Regions from separate parts of the Homo sapiens genome. Here region 1 is linked to region 2. The links are contacts of gene promoters, found by promoter capture Hi-C in blood cells and fetal thymus (Javierre and others, 2016). All regions are on one chromosome and are shown on one strand. The core of a region is centred on a gene start or on the middle of the fragment in contact, and the rest is flanking DNA. Distances in the headings are between cores, read along the strand shown.

Evidence for each region. The method cuts DNA at HindIII sites, captures the fragments that hold promoters and counts their contacts. A CHiCAGO score of 5 or more calls a contact.
Region 1: a contact is called between a fragment that was not itself captured here and the fragment with the promoter of PAK6-AS1 in region 2, in 4 of 17 cell types (total B cells, naive B cells, naive CD4 T cells and 1 more). The highest score is 11.7, in total B cells.

Annotation. Positions count from the first base shown.
Region 1 is chr15:39,784,990-39,787,837 of GRCh38, reverse strand. LOC105370941 (a long non-coding RNA gene) reads right to left here. Exons shown (of 1, transcript NR_135665.1): 1 at 2,221-2,848. Among named protein-coding and RNA genes, the nearest start is that of FSIP1, 3.6 kb to the right of the region's middle. The HindIII fragment of the contact is 2,841 bases long and covers 1-2,785 here.
Region 2 is chr15:40,251,508-40,254,573 of GRCh38, reverse strand. It overlaps PAK6-AS1 (PAK6 antisense RNA 1), which reads left to right and starts at 1,615. Exons shown (of 2, transcript NR_168270.1): 1 at 1,615-1,916; 2 at 2,035-3,066. It overlaps BUB1B-PAK6 (BUB1B-PAK6 readthrough), which reads right to left. Exons shown (of 10, transcript NM_001128629.3): 2 at 1,285-1,396. PAK6 (p21 (RAC1) activated kinase 6) reads right to left here. Exons shown (of 11, transcript NM_001395430.1): 3 at 1,285-1,396. RefSeq lists a silencer at 1,544-1,633. The HindIII fragment of the contact is 18,506 bases long and covers 1-3,066 here.

The DNA of each region.
Region 1 (2,848 bases), core at 116-2,615, 470 kb after region 2:
CCACAGCAGACAGGGAGAGGAGGGAAAGAGTTCTACAGGGAGAGCATTTTTCAGTCTCTAGCCTGCTGTTTACAAAGGAAGTGCTGGATGTCACTGTTCACAGCCTCCGTGTAGAACAGCTGCAGGGGGCTCCATGGTGCCTCCAGGAGCAATGTCCTCACCACTATTTACCCTCTAAAACATTAACTTGAAGTCAGTGGTTCATCTGTACCACAAGCACCAAGGGACTTGTTAAAAATGCAGATTCCTGGTCTGCATTCCAGACCCACTGAATCATGTAATAGGGACTAGAATCAATATTTTAAATAACACCTGAACTGATCCTTCTCAACAACAAAATCTGACAACCCATTTGAATCGGGTTTATTTCACAGCTTTTAAGTTCTAAAAAATGTACTAAAATAAGGTACTAAGCACATATGAAACATATACTTAACATGTATTTTACTTTCAATAATAATAGCATTAAGCCTGGGCAACATAGGGAGACCTCACCTCTACAAAAAAAAAAAAAAAAATTCAACCGGGCATGGTGTTGCATGCCTGTAGTCCCAGCTACTCATGAGGCTGAGGTGGGAGGTTGCTTGAACCTGGGAAGTTGAGGCTGCAGTGAGCCATGATCATTGTGCTACTGCACTCCAGCCTGGGTGAAAGAGCATGACTTTATCTCAAAAAAAAAAAAAAAAAAGAAAAAGAAAAAAGTGTTACCTGTTCCAGAATCTGATTGTTGTTTTTTTCAGGCTTTATTTACTTCCCTGTTCATGACCCTTGCTGGCATGGATGGCATTGTGGCCAAGCAGGATTGGGAGATGCTGGAGGGAGTACAGTTGGTATAAAAGGGGTACATGGAATAAAACATGTATTTCTTCTTAAGTCTACTGATTTAATGTAAATACAGATGTATGAGAATTTTCAGAGTCTCAAAGTCACCATGGTTTTTTGATATTATTTATAGGTACTAACATTTTAAAAAATGCAGTTTTTTTGAGATCAAATTTTCACTTTTCCTATTTGGGTGGCTATTTAAAGATGCATCCAGGCACAATTCAGACATACAAGATACTTCAGTTCAGTGGTTTCTTGAATTACACCTAAAATCCAAAGGAACGTGTTTCTGAAAGTGGCTGCCAATTTTTTTTTTTAAGAGGACAATCAGCACCATCTAGTGGACACAAATATCTCCTCTTCTAGAATTCGGACCCCTGAGGAGATGGAGGGCAGGCTTTGGAACCTAGGTTGGAATCCCGGTGCCAGTTAGTTCCCCAACGACCTTGGGACAATTACTTACCCTTTAGGTGCTCTGCTTCTCAACTCTAAATCCAGGTAATACTAGTGCCGACTCATAGAATGTTATGAATGAAGTGAAATGATGCTTGGAAGGCAAGTCTGAAACACTTTGTAAATGCAGTTTTTCAATAACACTAAGCATAGATTCACAGGACATGGGAACTATCCAGTGGTAAACACTATTATCTGCTCTCCAGTAGGAATGGCTATTATACACAAAATCCAGTGTGTAGAATCTACGATATGAGGCTTAATGAGATCCCTCTCCTACCATATTGTTACATTCGGTTGAAGTTTATGGTGAGGAAAGGGCAACCGGGGCAACAAGGCTGAAATGGTAGTTGGTGCCCAGATGGCAAACAATGCTCTTGCTCGCTTTCATTCATTCAAATCTGACTCCACTCGGAAGGAGGATGTCAAGAGTAGGGAGAGACTGCAAACAAAAACAAAAGCTAACTCCGAAACTAACACTGCCACTGCCATATGTCACCAACCTGGAATGAGACCAGGGAAATTTTAGCTTCAAATATCTTGACTCTAGAAGAAATTTTTATGAATGACTTTGAAGGGCACAACACTTTCCAGGATGTGTTTGCGATTTTTGAAAATGGAACTGCAGAAAACACAGTATAGACATTTGGTGCTCTCGGACTTATATCCCCGTGCTGTTTTGAGGGTGTCACCTGCAATAGCTGACACAGAAGTATCTGGGGAAATTAAAAACAAATACACAACAAATGCAATTTATTAAAGCTGGCCCTTAAGGCACACACAGCCTCTCGGCAGTTTACAAAATGGAAGCAGCAGGAGGTAAATAAACACGTGAGAGTGACACAGAGACAAAACAATTCAAAATGAGATAAATAGTTTTATGCAAATATAGTCAATAGGGACTTAGTCTGGAAAGGTTACAAACAGTGAAGAGACACAAAGTTTACGTGGAACCCGAATTTTATTTTCACTTGCTTTATATGCATCTTATGTTGCATTTTAAAAACAACAGTTAAAAAAATGAAAACAGCAGTAATCATAGGTCCGCTTTTTCTTAGTTCAGCCCCTTCCCCCCCCGAGAAATTGGGAAGGTATTGTTTTCTTAGTGGACACTATTAGTCACCAAATTAAAAACTGGAAAGAATGGCCTTCGTTTATGGTGTATGAGAACCGTGCAGGCACTTGGCAATGATCTCGTCTTGCCGCTAGGTAAACAGCGGTCGGTGGACGGGGAGCATTGGCATCATCTAGGAGCCTGTTAGTCTCAGGTCTCACCTGATACTGAATCAACATTTTTTTTTTTGAATCAGCATTTTTAACAAGATTCCTCGGTGATTTGTCTGCACATTAAAGTTGAGAAGGCCTAGATTCATTTGATCTCAGGTACACCCCTGGTTGTGTAGTTTATGAAGTCTCCCCAGGTGATTCTAATGCTCTGTGCAGTTAAGCACTGCAAAACTAGTCCAACTTCATTTTTCAAATGAAGAAACTGTGGCCCACAAAAGCTTATGTATTTACCTAAGATAACCTAGCTGTTTAATATCAAAATCCAAATAATGTCATCTCTCTT
Region 2 (3,066 bases), core at 366-2,865:
GGCAACAGTTGAGGTTCCAGGGTCACCCATGAACACATGAACATGTGTGATGTGCAGGGGGCGCTGCTGTTTCTGATGCCCAAGCCAGATCCTCTTCCAGGAATGGCCCCTTCCCTGGGTCACCACGAGGTCCAGAGACCCTGAATTAGGGTCTCTCACTACTCGCCCTCCAAGGACCCCTACCTTTACTTTATTCCTATTGCTTTGCTCTAATACCCTCTGACAATAGCTTGCCAAACAGCCAGACTGCCCTCAAAGCTCTCCAGGATGGGAGAACTTGGAGTGGCTTAGCCCTTCCCAACATAGCAGCTGGAGGCTGATGAGGCAGTTACTCCCCACAACCGCCTAATGAGGAGGAAGGCATTCGCATTCCCATTTTACAGATGAGGCCATTTATAAGTTTGTAGAGAAGTGAAGCAACTTGTCTAAGGAGTCAAAGGCAAAGTCTGGATAGATTCAAACCCCACTCTCTTCGGTTCCAAATGTGTCTTCGGCCACTGTCCTATATACTATGGAGGAGAATTCATGGCACTGCAGGCTGAACCTCACCTTGCATGGAACCAGGCGTTTTCTTATCCAATGCGGCAACCTATGCCACACCGGCCACCAAAAACGAGCATGGACACAGACCTGAGCCCCTCTGCCCCCTTCACCCAGAAAAACAAGTCAGAAAAGCCCCCAAAAAACCACCAGAATGGGGCAAGATACAGAAAACGCAACCTACACCCTGGGAGCTCTTCATGGCTTAGCCTCCAGTGCTCCCAGCAGCACCTACACTCCAGATCGGATGCCACCTGAGCAGGTCTGGAGATCTGGGGAATGAGCGGTGGGCTGGGATGTGTGGAGCGGCAGCTTCACCTGTAACTCCTGCGGGAGTCTCCCACGGCTGCCTCCCACCCTGCCCTGCACAGCCACTGGGCCTGCCACCACCCTTCCTGTTTGGGAACCTCTTCCCCGGCATGAATTCCCTGCACTCTGCCGCGGTGACACCCTCACCCAGGACAGGCATCAGACCTGAAGATGGGCCCGGGGGCAGGGCGGGCCATTTGAGGTCTTGACGTCTACCAGCCTACCGTGGGGCCATGGGGCAAAGTGGTGTAAGTGACTTAACATGCACCCACTAAGGATCGAGAGACGGCACCTGGAAGGGACCACCTCCGCTGCCTAGCAGTACCAGGAAGGAGCCAGCCCAGGAGGGCCACCTGCCTGCCCACTGTCCCTCCCTGCCTGCTCTTCAAAATGGGTGCAGAAGGCTCTAGGGCCGGGGGCCGCTCGCTCACTCACCTTCCGGCGCCTTCCGCCTCTTCCTCGCGACTCCTCACCCGCACTGGGCCTCTCTCTTAGGCGCTGAGGAGAGGGAAGACCTGGGACCTTGCTGGGCCAGTCCTCCGCAGGCCTGCGCGGAAACAGATCAGAAATGCATTATGGCAAATGTAGCAAGTGTTCCCGCGGGTGTTGCGACTGGCTGACGTCCAGGCGCTGGGAACCGCTCCGCGCCCGCCTCCCGACTGAACTCCTGGCTCAGGTGCAAGAGGCGGCAGGCTCCTTGCGGGGCTTACGGGGAGAAGGGGACGTTGGGCGCAGCACCGCTTCCGGGGCGGCCCCTCTCCAGCCACACTCCGACCCGGCGCGGCCACCCGGCCCCAGCTCGCAGGCCCCACTGCTGCGCCCTCTCGGGGACGCGAATGCCCCGCGCCGGGCGGGCGCCCGCGGAGGGAGGTCCCGCTCCAGGGACGCGGAGCTCCAGATGCCTGCGCCCAAGGCCCCTCGCCTGGCGCCGGCTGGTCCCGAACTTCGGGGCATGGGCACCCAGGAAGGGGGCTGCGCGTGTTGGGAGGCCCGTCCTCTCGCCGCGAACCTCCGGGGCAGCCGGGGAACCCACCTGCGGAGCGGGAAGCCCAGGAACGCTCGAAGAGGTCGTGGGAGCCGGGCCCGCCCTCCGCGGGAGGGACCTCGGCGCGGGAACGCCGAGGAGGGGCCGCGCTTACACGTTGGTGCAGCGCCGGCTTCACCTGACCGCGATTTTGATTTCAGGGTGTGGCCTCAGGTAGGACGCGGCGGCGAACCCAGAGCGCGGGAGAAGTTGCCAAGTGTCGCTGGGGCCTTGGCCAGGAGCCCCTCTGCCCGAGGGGCGCCGTGCTGCTCAACTCTTTCTCTCCACCTGCTTGGCCCCAGTTCCCGCCCGCCCTTCGCCTCCGGGCCCTGGCCTGGCCACAGCCGCGGGGACCTGCCTGCGGCTCCACGGCCCAGTGGCCGCCTCGCGGAGACCCGACCTGGAGAATCAGCTGAGCGCCGGCTGTGTGTAATCACCTCGTTCACTGGCATCGCAGATGCACGCTCCAGAGCCGCGGGCCGACTCTCCCGGACCTGAGCGGGCCGCGTGTGCCCACCCACACATCCTGGAGAGCCCACGCGGGAGTCGGAAAACCTGTCACCTTGGATGATCTGTCCCATGTGGACAGGGCCCCAAGACTGTGCTGGGGTAGCCCCTTGCGCAGGCAGGAAAGCGGGATTTAAGGGATTCCAGTTCCCTTGTCAGCCCTTGCGCAGTCCTGAGTCCTGAGGACTTTCTAGCCTGAGAGTCCTAGGGCAGGAGACCCGCACCCCCAGAGCGGCTAGGGCCTGTTTCGGAGCCCCTCCGCCTGTGATTTTGTCCCAGAGTCGGCATCCTCTGCTTGTCCTCAGCAGTCCCTGCCTAAGATCAGAATGGCCATTCCAAGGGGCTCACTCCTGGCTGCCCCTGTGCCATGTTTCTTTTGGGGTACAGGGTGTTTTCTATACTGGGGGAAGGGACAGGAATCACTCATCTCTTCCCCAGATAAAGAAGTGAGAAGACCTTTGCTCTCCTTGTCTTGGGCCCCCAGAGAAAGGCTGTGTTCTGGCTGAGTGCTGAGGAAGTTCTGGCTTGGAAACTCAGTACATGTGGACTCCAAATGGCTGCCGTCAAGTGGTGGCTGGGTGACTGCCAGTGTCACAGAGCGGGGACCAAGGACAGTGCAGGGATTTTAAAAATCATTGTTGGGCACCTCAGACTTCAATGATTAACTGAGGTCACTATGGCCACTT